Regions from separate parts of the Homo sapiens genome. Here region 1 is linked to region 2. Evidence: promoter capture Hi-C in 16 types of primary human blood cells and fetal thymus (Javierre and others, 2016). All regions are on one chromosome and are shown on one strand. Each heading gives the region's core, a stretch centred on a gene start or on the middle of the fragment in contact. The rest is flanking DNA. Distances are from core to core; before and after follow the strand shown.

What was found. The method cuts DNA at HindIII sites, captures the fragments that hold promoters and counts their contacts. A CHiCAGO score of 5 or more calls a contact.
Region 1: a contact is called between a fragment that was not itself captured here and the fragment with the promoter of STK24 in region 2, in 1 of 17 cell types (activated CD4 T cells). The highest score is 5.9, in activated CD4 T cells.

The regions. Positions count from the first base shown.
Region 1 is chr13:100,580,405-100,586,849 of GRCh38, forward strand. GGACT (gamma-glutamylamine cyclotransferase) reads right to left here. Exons shown (of 3, transcript NM_001195087.2): 2 at 3,421-3,593. Among named protein-coding and RNA genes, the nearest start is that of GGACT, 5.2 kb to the right of the region's middle. The HindIII fragment of the contact is 1,462 bases long and covers 3,426-4,887 here.
Region 2 is chr13:98,574,218-98,579,987 of GRCh38, forward strand. STK24 (serine/threonine kinase 24) reads right to left here and starts at 2,890. Exons shown (of 11, transcript NM_001032296.4): 1 at 2,528-2,890. The coding sequence starts at 2,569. It overlaps STK24-AS1 (STK24 antisense RNA 1), which reads left to right and starts at 3,038. Exons shown (of 1, transcript NR_046542.1): 1 at 3,038-4,624. RefSeq lists silencers at 400-459, 1,924-2,793, 2,844-3,153, 3,174-3,323 and an enhancer at 3,414-3,603. The HindIII fragment of the contact is 9,197 bases long and covers 1-5,770 here.

The DNA of each region.
Region 1 (6,445 bases), core at 2,907-5,406, 2.0 Mb after region 2:
AGGTGTGCGACCACTTGCCGCAGAACGCCTGGAGCCGCCAGAAGCTGAAAAAGGTAGGGAAGGACTTTCCATACAGCCTTTGGAGGGAGGGCAGCCCTGACAGCACCTTGATTTCTGGTTTTGGATTCTGTGAGCAGAGAATAAATTTTTGTTGTCTTAAGCTTCCCAGTTTGTGGTAATTTGCTATGGAAGCCCTAGCAAATGAACACAGTTACTAAGTAACTCTTCTGTGTCAAGTCAGGATAGCAAAGGCTGCCTTGGCTTAGGCAGAATAAAACAGCCAGGGCTCACAAGTGATGGAAGAACTGCCAGGGGGAAGCTATGAAATCTGCACCCTGTAGATCTGACTGTTAAGATGTTCTCAAGGTAGTAGGATCTCATTTCAGCCTGCCCAAAGAAACTTTCACCTGTTGGCCCAGTCTACAGTTACAAGACTAAAGGCAAAAGGAACTGTGTATATTCATAAAAACCGGGCTCTCGTTGTTTAAGTGGTTCCCATAGGGCGAGATGGCAATTCCAACACTGTGATACACACATATGTACTGAACAAGTAGGCAAATGTGCCACAGGCAATGGGAGCCACGTTTCTCACTGTTGGAATGGGAGGTGAGAGACAGCAGGGAAAACGCAAGAGTGATCCACGGGGTAAAGGATTAGGGCTGGAGACACCAGTGTGGACTCACAGAAACAAATGGTTCCATACAGAAGTATTTAGTGATATGTGTATATACACAGGTCAGTACACACAGACATTTCCTTGCTCCATCAGCTGAGAGGACCTAAAAGCAATGCCACCACAGTCGAAATGAGCACACCAGCATCCAGCTTGTGGTTTCTAACACCATCTCCAACAGAGGGGACCAGGGTTCCCCAGAGAAACGGCTGAACCTAAGACTGAAGCAGGAAATACACAAGATCAATCTAGGGCATCTAGCAATATTGGAAAGCAAGGAAGTGCTCAAAAATAAACAAACCCACCAGCCCACAAAGATGGGACAAGTTGAAAGGACACAAGAGACAATGGAACAGGCTCCCAATGGCCAAAGCAGGAACAACTGGAGAACAAAATAAGGAGTATTGGATTAGAACCTAAAGTATAATATAAGTATCTGTGAGTCCATAATGATATAAATGGCTGAGTAAATAAATGCAAGAAAACAGATAACCCTCCTGCACGGAAGAATTCCAAATAACATATGTAGACACTTTCCCCTTAAGGAGATGAAGCCTAAATAACTCCTCCCTTCAGAAGTGCAGGCTGCTCACTGTGACTTCCTTTCAGAGCACAGTATGAAGGGAGGGGGAAAGTGTGACTTTACAGTGGAGAAACCTGCCAATCACTATTTCAGTCAGGTAATCAAGATCAACAGCAAAAGAGAGAAGTCATGTAGACAGTATGTGTGCTTGATACGATGTAGCAAAAATGACACTTTATCTCCATGGTCTTCCTCCCAATCCCCACACCCCTGTGGCAGTGACTCTGTGGGGTGAGGGCTAAAGCAAATAATAAATTATGCTGGGTTGTTCTGAACTGAGATTTCTGGAGTGGAAGAAAGGGGTATGGATATAAGTTCTATGACATTAAGCAAAAACGTTGTAGTCCAGAAAAAGACTTGGATGTTACCAGTATGCGCTCATGAAATATTTTATCTTGAACAATGGTTTTCCCTGTCTCTGTCTGTTGAAATGGCTTAAAAACAACTGCCAATCCAACAGCAATGAGCACCTTATTAGGGCCAGATTATGGCCTTTAAGTACCATTTTTCACTTTAAAACAGCTAACCAGGGCTCCTTGGAGAAACAGCTGATTTCAGATTTGGGGCAATAAATCTGACCATAACTTCCTCTTACTGTTGGGAGGAACTTCAAAACTTATGATGACCTACAGAATCCTCTCTCCCTGGCTCCCTCTCCAGTCCCATCTCCTCCCTGCCAAGGACTCAGCCACATTCACCTTCTTTTGTCTCCTCAAATCTGTGGTTGGCAGAATAATGGCCACCCAAAGATGTTTACATCCTAATCCCTGGAACCTATGAATATGTTAACTCCTATGCCAAAAGGGACTTCACAGATGTGAGGACCTTGAGGTGCAGAGATCAATCTGGATTATCCAAGTGGGCCCAATCTAATCAAATGAGGAATCCTTAAAACTGGAAAACCTGCCCTGGATCAGATCAGACAGATGTGACGACAAAAGCAGGGTCAGAGAAGGGTAATATTGTTAGCTTTGAATATGGAGGAAAGGGCCAATAAGCCAAGGAATGCAGGTGGCCTCTAGCAGCTGCAAAAAGGAAGAAAACAGATTCTCCCTAGAGCCTCCAGACAGCTGTTATTATACACATATTTTTAATTAAAAAGTCCAAAATCACCCAGCTAGTAAGTGGCAGTGTCAGGACGAGAAGCCAGGCGGTCTGACACAGAAGTTGGTGCCCTTAACCATGATGCTAATATTTGTCTCCCACATAATAGAAATTCCAACACCTTTTTCATTCATTAACATGATACCCTCCAGTGTTCAGAATAGCTTAATAAATAGCTGCTGAATATGAATGAATGGGACAAAGATATAACTTCCCCCTGCTATTTTTTTCTTGGTAAAAAAAACTGTGTTATGGAAAGTAAAATATGTACAAAACTAGGGTAATGATAGAAGGAACTCTCAAATACTCATCTCCCAACTTCAACACTTAGCAACATACGGCCAATCTTAATGCCAACATTAGTTTGGTATTTATTGTCTGGAAATACTCCCCCTTCAATAATCTTTTTCAGAATCACATGTTCCTAGCTCTCATTACATTTTCATTTATCTGTGTTAACACGAATTTTTAAAAGAAACCTTAAAATGGGCAAGTCTTTCTAAGCAAAACACAAAACAAAGACACTATAAAGGGGAGATCGATATTTTTAAGTACATAAAATTAAAATTTTTTGCAAAGCCTAGAGACTGTATTACACAAAGTACAAAAAATAGGGTGGAAATAGTTATAGTACGTATGACAAAAGATTAGTATTCTCAATGTATAAATAATTCTTATAAATCAAAAGACAACCCCAGAGAAAAACAGATGAAGAAATGAATATACACTTTCTCTACTATTCTTTCCTTCCCTTTCCCTCCTCCTTTAATTTTTTGAGACAGGGTCTCACTCTGTTGCCCAGGCTGGAGCACAATGGCATAATCAGTGTAATCACAGCTCACTGCAGCCTCAATCTCCTGGGATCAAACAATCCTCCTGCCTCAGCCTCCTAAAGTGCTGGAATTACAGTACAAGCCACCGTACCTGGCTCCCCACCACTACTATTCTTAAATGACAAAGAGACAAGGGCTTCCAACTGGCACTATTTGTCAGCATACTTCTTGTGGTGCTCTAGAATTTGAGCAATGAACACTCTAGAACAGAGGCTAACAGTTCTCACCTGTAAGCTTGTTTCTTCAAGGAAGTGTTGCCTTAGAATCCAGATCCACAGTAAGCCTGAGAGTCTTAAAAACTTTTGACTTCAGAATCCTTCCACATGATTCAAGAAAAAGTTAAGTCCACTTCACAGGGTGACCAGAAAGTCCATGGGGACCAAATATCCAGTTTTCAGTCCTGTTGGGAGGTGAGATAAGAGGAAGTCAACTGAAGAAAGTTAAACATTTAAGCAATAAGGGGCTTACAAACAAACATAAATGACCTAACTACCATTAGAAGGCAATCTCAGACCCTGGGCACATACCCAGGGAAGGAATATACTTATATTCAGTGCAAAAATGCAGTCCACATGCTTGAGGGGCCAAAGAATGCCTTGAATAGAGGAACCTTCCCAGTGACCTAGAGAAAGGGTTCAAAGTTCTCAAGACCTCCTTGACAAAATGTGGTACATATACACAATGAAGTACTATTCAGCCATTAAAAAGGAGATCCTGTCATTTGCAACAATATGGTGCAGCCGGAGGTCGTTATGTGACGTGAAATAACCCAGACACAGAAAGACAAACTTTGCATGTTCTTACTCATTTGTGGGAGCCAAAAATTAAAACAATTGAACTGACTGAGATAGAGATCAGAATGATGGTTACCAGAGGCTAGGAAGGGTAGTAGGGGGGTTGGGGGAAAGCAGAGATGGTTAATGGGTACAAAAACACAGAAAGCAGGAATAAGATCTAGTATTTGATAGCACAACAGGGTGACTATAGTCAGTAATAATGTAACTATACATTTAAAAATAACTAAGAGTATCGTTAGATTGTAACACAAAAGATAAATGCTTGAGGTGATGGATACCCCATTTACCCTGATGTGATTATTACACATTGTATCTCATATACCTTGTAATGAGGGTTTATTATTACACATTGTATCTCATATACACCTATTACTAGGTACCCACAAAAATTAACTATCAAAAAAGAACTATTTGAGAAATAACAGCTCTATATACTCTCCTACAAATAAGAAAAGTAAAAAGAAAAAGAAAAAATGTCTTCTCAGCCATCAGGCAAAGCCAATTTTAGTAATGCTGAGCTCCTATTTTGGTAATGTTGAGCTTCTTTGATTCTTTGATGAGGGTTTCCAAGTCTTTAAAGTCAGATAAATTTAGATTTAAAAAAAGTCAAACCACTTCTGAAGTAGACTTGCCAAAAATGGCAAGCATGAACCTAATTAAGCCTCTAGATCTAACTTCTAGTTTACAGGAAATATAGGGGATAGAGAAGCAAGCCAAACCACACTCCACGAAAAGCAGCCCAACAGATCCAGAGTGTGAGGCACCCTACAGGCAATCAACCAAGTAACATCGACAGTCATTGGTATTGAGGAAACCCGCCAAGGCTGCTCTAGACTTGGGTCGGCAAACCACAGCCTGCGGGTAAGTCCAGCCTGTGGGTGGATTTTAAAACACAAAAGCTTTGGAAATTAAGTATTATTGGAACACAGCCATGCTTATCCATTTACTATCACCCCTGGCTACTTCTGCATGACGATGGCAGAGCTGAGCAGTTGTGGCAGAGACCATAGGGCCTGCAAAGCCTGAAAGAGCTGGTATCTGGCTCTTCACAGAGACATCTGCCACCCCTGCCCTAGATTGAAAGGGGCAACAGCTGAGCACGGTGGCTCACGGCTGTAATCGCAGCACTTTGGGAGGCAGAGGCAGGTGGATCACTTGAGTTCAGGAGCTCCAGACCAGTGTGGCCAACATGGTGAAACCCCGTCTCTACTAAAAATACAAAAATTAGTTGGGTGTGGTGGCATGCGCCTGTAGTCCCAGCTACTTGGGAGGCTGAGGCATGAGAATCACTTGAACCCAGGAGGCGGAGGTTGCAGTGAGCCAAGATTGTGCCACTGCACTCCAGCCTGGGTGACAAGAGTGAGTGAGACTCCGTCTCAGGAAGGAAAAAAAAAAAAAAGACCAGCCTGGGCAATACCTGTCTCCACCAAAAAAAAAAAAAAAAAAAAAAAAAAAAAAAAATAGCTGGGCATTGTGGCACATGCCTGTAATCCCAACTACTCAGGAGGCTGAGGTGGGAGGATGGCTTGAATCCAGGAGTTCGAGGTTACAGTGAGCCATGATCTCAGCAGAGCTGGTTCCTGTCTCAAAAAATAAAATAAAATAAAAAGGTAACAGTCAACAAATTCTTGTCTGGATGTGGATTCAAACAAACCAACAGTAAAAATAAGTTCATTTTTGAGGTGATCAGGGAAATCTGATCATGGACTAGGTTTTAGAAAATGTTAAGGAATTATTGTCAATTTCATCAGGAGGTGATAATTGTATTATGGTTACACAAGCAAATGCCCTTTCTCTGGAGAAACATACTGAACAATTTAGGGGTGAAGTGTTATGTTGTCTGGAATAAACTGCTTTAAACTGCTTCAGCCACAACCAAAAAAAGAAAAAAAAAGATGAAGTGGATATGGCCAAACAAGACTTGTGAAGTCCATTTGATGGATATATGGAAATTCATTCTACTTTGCTGGGCTTTTATGTTTGCTTAAAATTTTCCCAATAAGCAAAACAAACAAACAAACAAAATCAGAACCTTGATCAAAATGTAGAGGTTATCACTGGAGAGCCTTGCTTTCCAGGCACCCCCACCCCCGACCCCACCCCTCCTCTCGCGGAGTCCAGCCTCAGCACGCCAGTTGTTCACCTTTGTCTGAACACACTGTCATTTTCAGCTTCTTATTTTTGCTCATGGTGTTGGCCACCCTTTCCATTCCTGTGCCTATAAAAATCTGTTCTCTGCTTAAGGTCTCCCCAACTGTGACCTTCTCCTGGCCCTCCAGTGAGCACTCACCTCTCAGTTCCAACAGCACACTGCCTCTGGTTTCATTCTTCGCTACGTTCTAGCTATTTACCAGGTCTGTTACCTCATGATGCCATACAATCCCAGAGACTTCCAATAGCTAAGTCTTTTCTGTAAATCCATTTAAGGGGGTATCACGATGCCTTTTACGGAGCA
Region 2 (5,770 bases), core at 1,640-4,139:
AGCCAGGATGGTCTCGATCTCCTGACCTCATGATCCGCCCACTTCGGCCTCTCAAACTGCTGAGATTACAGACTCTGCTGTCTTTCTAAGCCAACTCCTTATAAGCCCTGGTCAGGAGACAAGAAAAAGGGAGGGCTATGAGGCCTATCAGAGCAAGCCATAGAAGAGATACGGACTTCTCTCCTCCCATTTAGCAGACAACAGTCGAAAGCAGGTGTGTTTTTAATTGAATCTTCAGCAACAACTCTTAGGGAAGCCTCCCAGGGCAGTAGCAACTGCTAATTTGAAGTAGAAAATAAATGTGCTGTTGTTTTTCTTTTGTGGGGTGGGGGAGGAGAAAAGAATGTTCTTCCCCAAATGATACACTGTTACCATACAGTCTGTAGATGTACTTAGGTACAGGAATGACTGGCAGAAGCCAACTTACCTACCTCTAAAACTGTAAAACTGTAACAGCTGAAAATCTGATCATCTTTTCCACTGAGAAACACTTAAGATCTTTCATACTGAGAAAACAAAATAAAAACAGTTCCCATGTAACACAACCTAACAGATACATAATAGTTGAGAGGCAAAGTTATTAAGGAAATGTATCTTCTTTTCCCAAGGTTTAAGAATTCTGACCCACTCAAAAAAAAAAGTGAGGATAAAAATGAAAAGGTGAGATACTAGATATCACCTGGTAACCATCTGATACTGACTTCACGGCACCAGCCAAAGGGGCTTTAGTACCTTTTCAAACTGATTCGCTATCCACAAAGGCCAATTAACCTAGTAAGTGAGGCATTTGTGCTAGATTCCAACCTGATGAACACGGTATAAATATCAACCTAAAGGAAATATTGATAAAACTTTTTTTTTAAATCATTACAAGAGTCCTTTCTTGCTCGACTAGTAAGAAATTACTTTTTTCACCCAGTTCACTCTGACCTACACACCTCTAAATTCATACCAAAGCGGCTTTAGAAAATACCAAGAAACCACATCTGATTGTTACCCAGCAGTCAGCAGAAGTTTAGGTTTTGAATGCATGCTAAATTCAACGCTCCTTAAATGAGAGTCGACAAAAGAATATTCTTCAAGCATCTTCCCAGTCACTCTTAAGATAATAACTTAACTGTTGCTGCTTAAATGTATATTTATTTACTGCTTAAACATATATACACACATATATATACTGCTTATATATACACACACACACACACACACACATATACACACACACACACTTGGACTAAAATTCTAGCTGCCATTAAAGTGGTAACTTTGAGTTCCTATTTTTCCAGAATTCAAACCTGAACAGTGAAATCCAGTTTTCTTTTTACGGTTTCAAAAAAAGAAGGGAGAGGGATGATCTCACTGGAAGAGGCGAGCAGACCCCAGAGGCAGTCCCAGGTCTGGGCTCTGTGCTTCTCAGCCCTCAAGACACAGGGAAGGAGCCTGTTGGTACCTGTAAATCAACCAGTAATCTACTTGGATGCTTTTGGTTTTCTTCAAACACTTAACGTTCACTCAGCTAAACTGGCAGAGCAAACTTTCATGACATATCCTAACTGCATCCTAAGATTTCCATCCTAAGCATTTTGCCACCATTTCTGCGCCTACAAAGTTTACAAGAGTTAGCCAAGGACGGTAGCTTTGTTTTTCAAAGGGCTAAAAGCAACGACAACGAAAACAACAACAACAAAAAACCTTTAACTTATACATGTAAATTTGAAATTCAACTCCTCTCCCACTCCCCAAAAAGTCACTGGTAGGCCAAGGTGTCACCAAGTACCGAAAGAGAGGTTTACTGGGCGAAGAATTCCTGTAAATGCAACCAAGTCTCAAAGTGAAAGTCCAGGGTCCCGGGGCCGGGCCCGGGACCCTGGTGCGCGGCTGTCCGAGGGATTCCTCCTTCCAGAAGGTTTGCAACTCGCACTTTCCCCCGGTCCGCAGGTGCACGGGGGCTCCGGGCAAAGCCACTGCAAGTGGAACTCGCGGTTACCTTCCTCCACTCCACCCTGCCTACTCCGCTCGGGCCCGGACGAGTCCAGGCGCGCTCCCCGTCCCCGCCCTGCCCAGGTCTCCCGCCCGCCTGCCCGGGGGTGGGGGACGAGCCTGGGGGACGCGTCCTGGGGCCCTCCGCCAACCCGGCCACCACGCAGGGCCCCGGGACCCGGCGGGGGCCTCCAAGGGCATCACTCCACCTCACTTCTCCCGGGGACAGGGCCACCCAGGGCCTGCAGCTCCGGAAGAGTGTTGGGGCGAGGGGAGCGCGGAGGACTAGGCGCCCGCACCCCCACATCCGGACCCAGGCCGCGGTTCCTACGGCTCCTGCACGCACACGCCGGAGACCTCGGCCGCCGGAGCCGGCAGGGACGCCCAGGGACTCGGACTCGGACCCCCGGCCGAGCCGGGCGCGCGGGGAGCCAGGCTCCGGCGCGACCCCGGCCGGCTGAGCGTAGGGGGACGCCGTGTGGATACCGCCAAGTTGCTGCTTCCGCCCCGGTCGCGCATCCCGGCCCCGCGGCCCGCGCCCGCCTACCTGCATGCCGGGCAGGCCCGACTGCACCGGGGAGTGAGCCATGGCGCTCAGGACGGCCACTTCCTGGGACGGGACGGCCGGGCCGCGACGATCCGCGCGGGGCGGCGAGGCCCGCGGGCCGCGCGCAGCCCTCGGGCGGCGGGGCCGGCCGGAGCCCGAGGCCACCCCAGCCCTGGCGGGTCCCGGCCGGGCGGCGGGGGCTCAGCGGCGGGTGGCGGGCCGCGTCTCCATGCACGGCGCCAGGGAGGAGCTGCTGGGGGCGCAGGGCCTCGCGCGCACTGCCGCCGCCGCCGCTGCTGCCGCTACTGCTGGGCTGGAGCCGGGCGGCCTGGGCCCGCGCGCGCTGGCCGCTGGAGCCGGAGTGGGCGCGCACAGCCCGCCGAGCCCGCGAGCGCCGAGCGCGTCCCGCCCCGGCCCGGCCCCCGCGCCCGCCCCCACGGCCCGGCCGGGGACCCCGCCCCGCGCTTCCGGGAGGGGGAGGGGAGAGGCCGGTGGCCGCGCGGGAGCCCTAGGCCGCAGCCGCCGCCTGTCGGCCCGGCCCGGGTCCCAGCTGCTCCTGCGGCGCTCCCACGCCCCCGCGGGCGGGCGGCGGGGCCGGGAGGGGGCCTCGGCTGGGGCGGGCGCCGGGAGGGACCGAGTCGGGGCCGGAGGCTGGCCGCGTGCCCACCGGGCCGGCGCCGGGGCGAGCCTGGGCCGCGGCCCCCTCTTCCCGCCAGCCAGCCCACCCCGCCCCGGCGGCCTCTGGGAAAACGCGTCCCGGGCGAGCCCCTGAGGGCAGGATCGGAGTCGGGGGCACCTGGGGAAGGAGAGCGCCCCGTGGGGCCTCGGCCGGTGGCCTGTGCCAAAAGGCCGGGCAGAGCTGCTTCGGTGTCTGGGTGAAGTTTCCAGCCAACCCAAGAAGGAAACCGAAAGGGAAGAGGCCGAGAGAGAGGTTAATTCCTAGTGCTTTGGTTACCGAAAACAGCCCGGCTGGGACTGCTGGGCTGGGAACTTAGCTAAGCAGTGCGGAGGCTGAACCCCACCATCTCTGGGATCCGCAGCAAATCAGAAGCCCCCACCCACGATAAGGGGAAAATGGGGCGCAGAGGGCAGGGAGGAAGGGAAGAGAATGGAAGGAAAGCGCGTCTGGACTTTGAACTGCAGCCCTCTCCCTCTTTCCCTTGCCTCGGAAGCTCCAGGCCCACTCAGCACCAGTTCTGTCTCCTCTTTTCAGCCGCCTTCTCTCTAGCTACTGAGGGGAAAAGTCAGGATGAAGCGGGTCCCTCGGCCTCCAGAAGGTGTTTTATTACAGTCGCAAACAGGTAGAGCGGCAGCCACCCCAGTGATGACTCCCTGCTCCTTAGATTGTAGGGACGCTGGCACCTCACTCATGCTCCTAAGTGGCCATTTTGCGCCCTGGCTGGGCGAGTTAGGCAGACAAAATGAGCCCCCAAAAGTTTAAAGGCCTCCACCAAAGGAGTATTTCTTTTCTGAGGTGTCATTGTATTCCATCCACGAACTTCAGTTCCCCCGGGTGCTCTGGATCTGACATGGAGTAGGATGCTAACATCTAATCCCTTCTTTCCCTTTGGAAAGATGCATGTTTTTTCTCGGAGTCCTAGGGAATACCTTAGAATACTTTCATGGTTGTCATTGGTACACCCATCCCTTGAGGAGCCCTGCCACCCGTAAGTAGGACTGCAAGGAAATACAAAATTAAGAGAAGTATGAACCCTGATACCCAGGAACTTAAAATCAGGTGTATAAATTTTGTACACCTAAAAAATATGGTACCTAAAGAGGCGAACAGCAAAACAAGCAAGAATGTGAATCTTTAAAATGTTTCTATTCTTCAGCGCAGCCCAGGAATTCTACCTAAAGTAACATATCCTAAGGCAACAACCAAGAAGTGTGGAAGAATGCATGTAAGAAGACACAGTGATGTTTAGAATCCTGGGGAAACGGAACAGCCAAAAAGTCTCACAGAGGTTAAGTAAATAATAGCATTTTCATACGAGTACTATGTAGTCATTTAAAATTATGTCTTTCAGTACCTAGTAATGGGGAAAATGTATTCATTATATATTATTAAAGAAAATACAGGGTACAAAACACTGTATATAGACTGATCTCAAATGACTATATATATATTAATATATATGGCCTACAGACACACAGTCATGTATTGCTTAACAATGGGTATACATTCTGAGAAATGTGTTCTTAGTTGATTTTGTCACGTGAGCATCATAGAGTGTACTTCCAGAAACCTAGATGGCATAGCCTACTACACACCTAGGCTATATGGTATGACGTATTGCACCTGGACCACAAACCTGAACAGCATGTGACTGAACTCAATACTGGAGGCAACTATAACACAATGGTAAATATTTGTGGATCTAAACATGTCTAAGCATAGAAAAGGGACAGTAAAAATATTCTTCTAGGGTCAGCAGAGCCAGGGCAATAACCTGGCACCAAGATAAAGAGCAAGAAACTAGATGAATGGATGGAAATGTCTGGATGCTGATCTGAGACATTACCATGGTAAATGCTCAGAAATCACTTTGCAGTGGGCTAATTGCCAGCAAATAAGTCACAGCAGATGGGGGACAAAGGCCCATAGTACCCTGGGTATAAAAAAATAACCGGAATCCTAGTTTGTGTCCTGAGGCTAGTGAGGCTCAAAACAGGGAGATTCCGGCAGGATGTAACTTCTCTGGACACAGTGACTTGCATCCATTAGCTGGTCTGTTGCCCCGAACCCTGTTTATCTTCTCTCCACACTGACCATTGTTTCATCCTTTGACAATGTTCATACTGTTGAGCACCATTCTTATCGAAAGAAGGGAAGGAAGCAACATGGGAGTTACTGGTTCTCCTTGGCCCTATGCAGGTAGTACCGAGTATTCCCCATGGCAGAAGTAGGTCTCCACCTTATTTGTTTTTGCACAACAGAGATGATGCACAGGGCCTGAGCCCGGGATCAGATCCGGTGCAATTGCCTATTATGTTCATTCATTCACACCTTTTTTGAATACCAACTATTAATACATGTCAGATACCCAGTTCAGTACTGGGCATATAAACATTAGATCCTCAGGTGCCTCTTAACCCATCCTAGGGACCTGGTCTCCCAGAATCCTAACTTTGGATGAATACAATACCATAATTGATTAAACTTAGAGTGGCAATAGCTATCATTTCCACCAAGGAAAGAAAAGGATCATCCTCTCACCCTCTTCCTCTTGTCACTTTCCC